Regions from separate parts of the Homo sapiens genome. Here regions 2 and 3 are each linked to region 1. Evidence: promoter capture Hi-C in 16 types of primary human blood cells and fetal thymus (Javierre and others, 2016). All regions are on one chromosome and are shown on one strand. Each heading gives the region's core, a stretch centred on a gene start or on the middle of the fragment in contact. The rest is flanking DNA. Distances are from core to core; before and after follow the strand shown. Region 1 holds the start of ITIH2 (inter-alpha-trypsin inhibitor heavy chain 2). Region 2 has its middle 32 kb from the start of LINC00709. Region 3 overlaps LINC00709 (long intergenic non-protein coding RNA 709).

What was found. The method cuts DNA at HindIII sites, captures the fragments that hold promoters and counts their contacts. A CHiCAGO score of 5 or more calls a contact.
Region 2: a fragment that was not itself captured here is called in contact with the fragment with the promoter of ITIH2 in region 1 in 1 of 17 cell types (M2 macrophages); the score reaches 7.0 in M2 macrophages.
Region 3: a contact is called between a fragment that was not itself captured here and the fragment with the promoter of ITIH2 in region 1, in 1 of 17 cell types (endothelial precursors). The highest score is 10.4, in endothelial precursors.

What each region holds. Positions count from the first base shown.
Region 1 is chr10:7,702,046-7,704,582 of GRCh38, reverse strand. It overlaps ITIH2 (inter-alpha-trypsin inhibitor heavy chain 2), which reads right to left and starts at 1,267. Exons shown (of 21, transcript NM_002216.3): 1 at 1,065-1,267. The coding sequence starts at 1,148. The HindIII fragment of the contact is 18,944 bases long and covers 1-2,537 here.
Region 2 is chr10:9,305,985-9,308,521 of GRCh38, reverse strand. No RefSeq gene overlaps it. Among named protein-coding and RNA genes, the nearest start is that of LINC00709, 32 kb to the right of the region's middle. The HindIII fragment of the contact is 7,013 bases long and covers 1-2,537 here.
Region 3 is chr10:9,276,941-9,279,477 of GRCh38, reverse strand. The region is part of intron 1 of LINC00709 (long intergenic non-protein coding RNA 709); the gene reads right to left. All of the region lies in intron 3 of LOC101928272 (a long non-coding RNA gene), which reads left to right. Among named protein-coding and RNA genes, the nearest start is that of LINC00709, 2.6 kb to the right of the region's middle. The HindIII fragment of the contact is 911 bases long and covers 818-1,728 here.

The DNA.
Region 1 (2,537 bases), core at 18-2,517:
TGGTAAGACAGAGATCAAAACAACCCAGTGATTAGGTGGGTGTCTGGGGAAGTATCTGGGTAGACCCTGGAGGCATTTGCAGTGTCTGACTGGACAGACATGAACCATACATCTCCCCAAGTTAAAAATGTAGGTATTTTCTAAAAGGAAATGCCAGTTAGAAATGACTGAAAAAGCACAAACACATTTGGATGTCTTGGCTTCAATTTGAGATTTCTAACACACTCTGGTGGCTTTTAAGTGTTGGAAAATATGATAGTTTCAAAGCAGACAGAGTGATATTTTCCCTTTGTAAATATGCCGTCATATTCTCTGGCATTTTTATAGGTAATCCACTCTGCAAGTATTATAAGCCTTTGCATTTGCTGGGATGTTCCCATAACATGCTTCGCTTTTCTGGCATAAAAATAGCTCTTGTATGACTTTCAGAAACAGACTTTCAGTCCAAGACTTTCCTTACATTGGAGATGGCTAAGGGACAAAAGTGGAGACCTGTACTCCATGGGAATTATTCTTGTACTTTTCCACCCTGCCTGCTATCTTCCGCTTTAATAGGAATACTTAAAGTGCTCTTATTACAAATATCACTGTTCACTTAGATATGAAAAACAGTGTGCTTTGATAATGACTTTTCTTATACTCTTAGTAAAAGAGTGATAATATTTCTTCATCATCATAACAGCTAGTAATTATTAAGCACTTACTAGTCCAGGCGCTCTGCTAGAAGAGTTTACACTGTGTCATTTAATTCTCAAAGCAAACCATTGGGTTAGGTCTATTCTTACCCCCAATTTTTTAGGTGAGGAGTGAGCAGCTCTGCTCCATAAATGCTACGCTCTGATGCCTGCCCATTGATCTTGACTTAATTTTCATGCAAAACCTGTTAATGCTTTAAAAGGTAAATATACATTCCAGTAATTATAACAGTAAACACTTGCACTCAGATGAATTTTATCTTAAGTTTCCATTACACACAGAATAAGGCCATTGAATAGCGATTCCAATAGATGATTTACTGAGCTCATGAACAAGCCAACAGCAAGGAGTGATCTGTAAGTACTTACTTCAGAAAGTCCATTTATGGGGATTTCGAAGCCTGATACTTCAGAAAGAAAGAAGCAGATGAAAAAGCACGTGAGTCTTTTCATTTTGCTGGACAGTTTTGCCAAGCTCCCCAAAGCAGATGGTCTGGGGAGGATATCACTTCTTCCTACTGAACCAAGTTCAAAGGAACAGCAGAGGAGTACAGTTCGCTTTAAGAAAGAAGAAAAAAGAAGAAAAAACTCTCTAACTTTGTTCAAAATTGGGACAAATATTTGTTCTGGAGCTCAAACTTGAGCTGTGTGGGTGGATCGAACACCCAGAGGTTATTCAAACAGCAAAGTCAGAAGCAGTTGCTTACTGTGAGGACAAGTCAGGGGCAGATGGATGTGCTTGAATGTGCTTGTGTGCTTTTATTTTATTTTTATTTTTTATTTTTTGGCTTTTGCTGATTTCTATTGATCTTAAAATCAGAGAGACCTACAGATAATTGTCATCCTTTCTAAAGGACCAAGTGCAGAACTATTCCAAGAAACAAAATCCTTTGATCTAAATGAAAGCAGGAAAAATTTAGAAAAAGTGGGAGAAGACACAGAAGGGTTTTTCTGAGCAAAGAATTCATTGTGCATGTTTTCCCCTATCTCTTTGATGACTGTCTACCTGTTACCTATAAAGACCCAGGCAAGTGGCTGTGCAGGATACTAGGGCAGATCTTCAGTGAGAATGCTTCGTGAATGTCTTTGATTAAGGTAACAGTGTCTGTCCTGCTGCCCCTATCAGCCGGGCTCAGGTCAGTGGCAAATCAATACTCCCCAGTCTCAGAATTGGAGTGCAGTGGTGAGATCAAAGCTCATTGCAGCCTCAACTTCCCCCGGCTCAAGCAATCTGCCCACCTCAGCCTCCAGAGTAGCTGGACTACAGGTGTGCACTACACTGCCTGGCTATTTTTTGTAGAGATGGGATTTCATCATGTTGCTCATCCTGGTCTTGAACACCTGGGCTCAAGCTATCTGCTTGCCTCAGCCTCCGAAACTGCTGGGATTCCAGATGTGAGCCCCCATGCCTAGCCTCCATCCTGGTCAGATTCTATTTTTCTTGCAACAAACAGGAAATGTAACTTCTTGGATGCAACACTGAAATAGGAAGCTCCAGCTGTGGGCAGAATTACAATACAAGGGAGGTTGTCTTATCCTCAGGACCAAGCACCCCAGGCCAACTTCTGGGATCCTGGAGCTCCTTGCTACATTTAAAGCCCAATTCACAGGGCATGCAACAGAGAGTTTTCTGCATTTTCCTCCCTAGTTTCCCCTCAGTCTTCGAAATTGCACAGCCGTGTGTCTGCTGGAGAAACATAACTTCTGAAATAATGGAAGGGAGAAAACAGATTCTCCCCTCCCTTGCCTAGGTTGGACTAGTTGAGCGCCCACCTTGGCCAGTGAGTGCCTCAGTGGACCCCTCATGGAAAAATCCTGCCACAGCTTTGCATTCTTGACTGA
Region 2 (2,537 bases), core at 29-2,528, 1.6 Mb before region 1:
GAATAAATATTGGCACACCAAGAAATAATCTACTGATGGGAATAGAGGCCCTGAAAATCATCCCACAGTGAGTCAATCCCAAGTTCAGCAGCAAATCCTCATTTTGACAGAATCAGGAAGATGTTGAAGTGAGTATATTTCTGGTCAATACAAGAACATTTTTTCTTGGTTTTAACCTCCTCCTGGCAGTTCTGTGCCTTCTCATTTACCCCACCAGAGTTGTTCTTGCTAGACTTTTACTCTGGTATCAGAGTCTATTTAGCCAAGAGACTCACTGGGTATTAGCTAATTGGCCCATGGAGGAGCTTCCATAGTTTCCCTGTCCCCACTCAACATCAACTGCAGAAATTGATTCATAGGGGCCGTGGTCCCCTATTTGTTAGCAATACATGGATGTTTATCTGTTGAAGAAGACATTGTGGTACATTGGAAAGGGATTGGAATAGGAGCAAATAAGCCCCAGCTCCAGTCAGCAGTTTTACTGTGCTATGTGGATAATCATTTTGCTTTGCCAAACTCACAGACATGTTATGTGACTAGAATATGATATCTTGTGTAAGAGTACTTTCAAAATTATACTTACGTGGAAATGAGAACTGATATTAATACGTAATATATCTGTGAAACATTTTATGAGATTTTTCATGTCATTTCTCTTTGAAACAGATGAGTATCATTAGAATTTTTTTGCAATTTCTGAAAGGCAGACCTCTCAAAAAAGTTACACTGATATTTATTCTCGAGTATCGTAGCTTTTTATCCATTTATCCTTTTCTTTTTGTAAGTGTCCCATGATTTGGGGAACTTATTGTAGCAGTCAATGTAATTTACAAATTTAAATTACACTATAGGAGTAACTTAACTTCTTGCCTTGGGCAGCAGTGAAAGATAACTACTTTGTTTCTATTTGCAATAATAACTATTGATTAGATAAATAAATACTTTAATATCTCGGCCAAATCACCAGTGACATTTATGCCAATCCCTCTAATACTAAATCCATAAAATTTGAAAATAGTCTGTTTAATATTAATTTTATAGCCATGAATAAAGTACTCCTTCAATTTCTATGCTTCATGTAGCTTGTGTCTTTAACATCCATGTTTCTTACTCTACAGAGGAGGATACTAAAATTCAGTAATTAAGCCATGCAGCAAGTAAGACGTGGAGCTAGGATAGATACCCAAGCCCATAATTTTTCCAATATCTTATGTTGCCACTTGATTAACAATGCTTCTTAGAAGCATACTAATGGCAATGTCTATGATGGCAGTGACTGTACCTAAAAAATAAGTGTTTTTCCTATCACACGTCATTATGATCAGGTCACATTATATAATAAACATCAGTCATGTAAGGTGATGGAGTTTCTACTCAGAATGTTATTTTGCCACTAGTTAGCGTGTGTCACTAGTTAGATAATGACAAAATAGGGTTCAAAATTTTAAGTAATTTATATGCAGATAGACCAAGGAGAAAAATGTATTAGCAGTAGATTAAGGTTCAGAAACCAATGTTTTCTAATCCCAGATACCCATATGTATGCCTTTGAAAAAGTTATCAGGCAGAATTGAGGTATGGAAAGTAGAAGGCAGTCTGGGACTGCTCAAGGCTCAGTACGGAGCAGTACATGGAGTATCACATCATAGAGATCATTGACCATATAAAACACATATTCTTTCCTCAAAAATTTTAAAAGACACACTCACCAACTTTCTTTTTTTTAAACTTGTATTTTAAGTTCAGGGGTACATGTGCAGATTTGTTACACAGGTAAACTTGTGTCATGGGGGTTTGCTGTACAGATTATTTCATCACCCAGGTATTAAGCCTAGAACCCATTCGTTATTTTTCCTGATCCTCTCCCTCCCTCCTCCCACCTCCACCCTCTGAGAGGCCCCAGTGTGTGACATTCCCCTCTGTGTGTCCATACGTTCTTATCATTTAGCTCCCAGGTATACATGAAAACATGTGGTATTTGGTTTTCTCTTCCTGTGTGAGTTGCTAAGGATGAAGGCCTCAGCTGCATCCATGTCTCTTCAAAGGACATGATCTCATTCTTTTTTATGGCTGCATAGTATCCCATAGTGTATATATACCACATTTTCTTTATCCAGTCTATCATTGATGGACATTTATGTTGATTCTGTGTTGTGAATAGTGCTGCAATTAATATATGTGTATGTGTGTCCTAATAATAGGACGATTTGTATTCCTTTGGGTGTATACCCAATAATGGGATTGCTGGGTCAAATGATATTTATTTCTTTAGGTCTTTGAGGAATCGCCACAATGTTTTCCAAAATGGTTAAACTCATTTTTACTCTCACCAACGGTGTATAAACATTCCTTTTTCTTCACAACCCCACCAGAATCTGTATTTTTTTGACTTGTTAATAGTAGCCATTATGACTGGTGTGAGATGGTATCTCCTTGTGGTTTTGATTTGCATTTCTCTAATGGTCAGTGATGTTGAGCTTTTTTCATATGATCCTTGGCCGCATGCATGTCTTCTTTTGAAACATACTAACCAACTT
Region 3 (2,537 bases), core at 24-2,523, 1.6 Mb before region 1:
TTTAGTAGAGATTGGATTTCACCATGTTGGCCAGGCTGGTCTCGAACTCCTGACCTCAAGTGATCCACCCACCTTGGCTTCCCAAAGTGCTGGGATTATAGGCGTGAGCCAAAATGTCGGGCTTTAACTGCTTAGATTTTAAACAATTGTCCTAAAGAATCCCTGGACAAAGGAACAATGACAAAAATCACAAAATGTATTTCAGGAAAAAGTATTGGAAAAGAGAACATGCCCTATGAACCTTAGCAACAAACAGAAGCAGCAGACACACTGATATCTACTATACGTCCATGTTACAAAAGGAGTATCCACATCCAAGTTCGAACATCAGTTAAAGAGGTGGTTTTAGTGGAAATACTGTCATTTTGAATGTTTAAAAAGGGTAGTCATAGGAGAAGTTGTCGGACATATTTTAAGGAGAAATAACTTTTTCAGGTCATACTCAGAGGTGTTTAGAAGAGCTCAAATCTAGAAACATGAGAATTGTTTGAGAAGGAGAACCTAGAAGACTTGAGGTCACCTTGAAAATGTGGGTGAGATGACAGCTTGCAATAAAATACAAGATTCCAGAATTCTTGGTATGACAGGAAAATAGTTAATGTGCAACCCTGTCATATCTTGATGCATCTGCTGATGGCTATTTTTTCAAAACCTCTAGAGCATGACCACTAAATAGCATAACGTTCACATTTTTGTCCTCTCTCTCATTTTCTTCTTTTTAACGAACGGTTGGGAAAAAAACAAAAAACAAAAAACAAAAACCAGCAAACAAAAACCAAAAGAAAAAAAAAAACATCACCAATAAACAAAAGAAGCTTCACCATCATTTGGGCCAAAGAAAGGGGTGCTTCATTTTCCCCGGAAAGATATGCCCTTCCTTCATTTGCTAAAAGCTGTTGATGACCACTTCGAAAAGAAACTCCACTTTGACTCTGAATTGCAGCAGTCTCTTTTTTTTTGATCCAGCTGCCGTGGAAGTGCATTGTCGAGCTAGATAAAAGGTTGTTATTGGAACAAAAAAATTGTGTTTTTTCCTTCCTATGTAATATGTAATAAAACTATTCTATGAAGTCTCAATGAACTCTCTCAATTGAGAAAAATACAGACAATTTTCATTATAAGTGAATGTCTCCAATTCATTCCTTTTCTATGGAAGGAAGACATGCAACAGTAACTTACTGTAGGCCACATTTCATAAGATATAATCTATTCCATTATTCTTGTGTATGTTTCATATGAAAAATGTTATGAAGTTTTTTCCCCTCACAAAAATACATATTCCCTTATCTCATTAAGTCCCTATCTCACACAACACCATTCCTCTACTGTCGCCCAGACCCCCAGCTCCCCTGCTCCCCCGCTGGGGTCTCAGCCTGTATTGCTATTTCAGAAATATAAAAGAAATGCATGCATTTCATTCACGCACAGTCAGTCCATTATTCAATTTAAAATCTCTGGCAAATGTAGATGAAATTCTGAGAATGAAATGAACCTGGTTTTGGTTGACTGTGCCTGATGAGATTCAGCATTATCTCCAAAATGCTATGACTTACATTTTTTGTTGTATGTAGAACGTTCTATTTGTTTCTAGAAATTACAGTGTTTTTGCCTAGCAATGACCTTACGCTGGTCACAGGTACCCATGTGAAACCAGTTAGTCTAAGCAAGCATTATAACCCTGAACACTGGATTTATCAAACACATTTAACATAGTGTGTGCTTGAAGCTTTATGTTTGATTATAAAATTAATACATGCTTATTTTTGAAAATTCAAATACCGTAAAGCACGTTAACAAAAAAAGTAAAGTGTTCTACTTCCCCTCTCTTCTATAGTTAACCCGTTTCTGGATAGTCTCTGTGTTTAAAGGTTAGGCATGAACCTTCACACAGATGCTTACCCTCCCTCACTCCCCTACATAAATATTCATGTGTATTTTACATACTTTTTATTCTTTTTAAAACTATAAAATAATACTGTACATGCTGTTCTGCAGAAATCATTTTTGCTCAGCATATTATCAGTAAATCTCTGTGTTACTTCCTACAGATCTGTTACATTCTTTTGAATAGCTACATAACATTGCCTTTTGCTCTTAAAATCAAAGCTGCAATGAAGATCACTTTGCATAAAGATTTCACTATACTTGATTGCCGGGTCAAAGAAAGTTTATTTTTTATTTTGATAAAGTATGTATTTTGAGATTTTAATAAGATAAAATATTACTTTAAATGATTTTAATAGCCCTATTAAAAATTACACCAAATTTATATTCTCTGTTACGTACTCCAATAGCATTACTCTATGAGTAAAACACATTCTATTCTTTGTGACATGCTTAATATTCCTTTCTTAGAGTCATAGACAAAAGACAGGAACTGGCTAGAAGCATGATCTTATTTTAAAAATTAGACGTGAAGGCCAGGTGCAGTGACTAACGCCTGTAATCCTAGCACTTTGGGAGGCCGACGTGAGTGGATCACCTGAGGTCAGGAGTTCAAGATCAGCCTGTCCAACATGGCAAAACCCTGTCTCTAC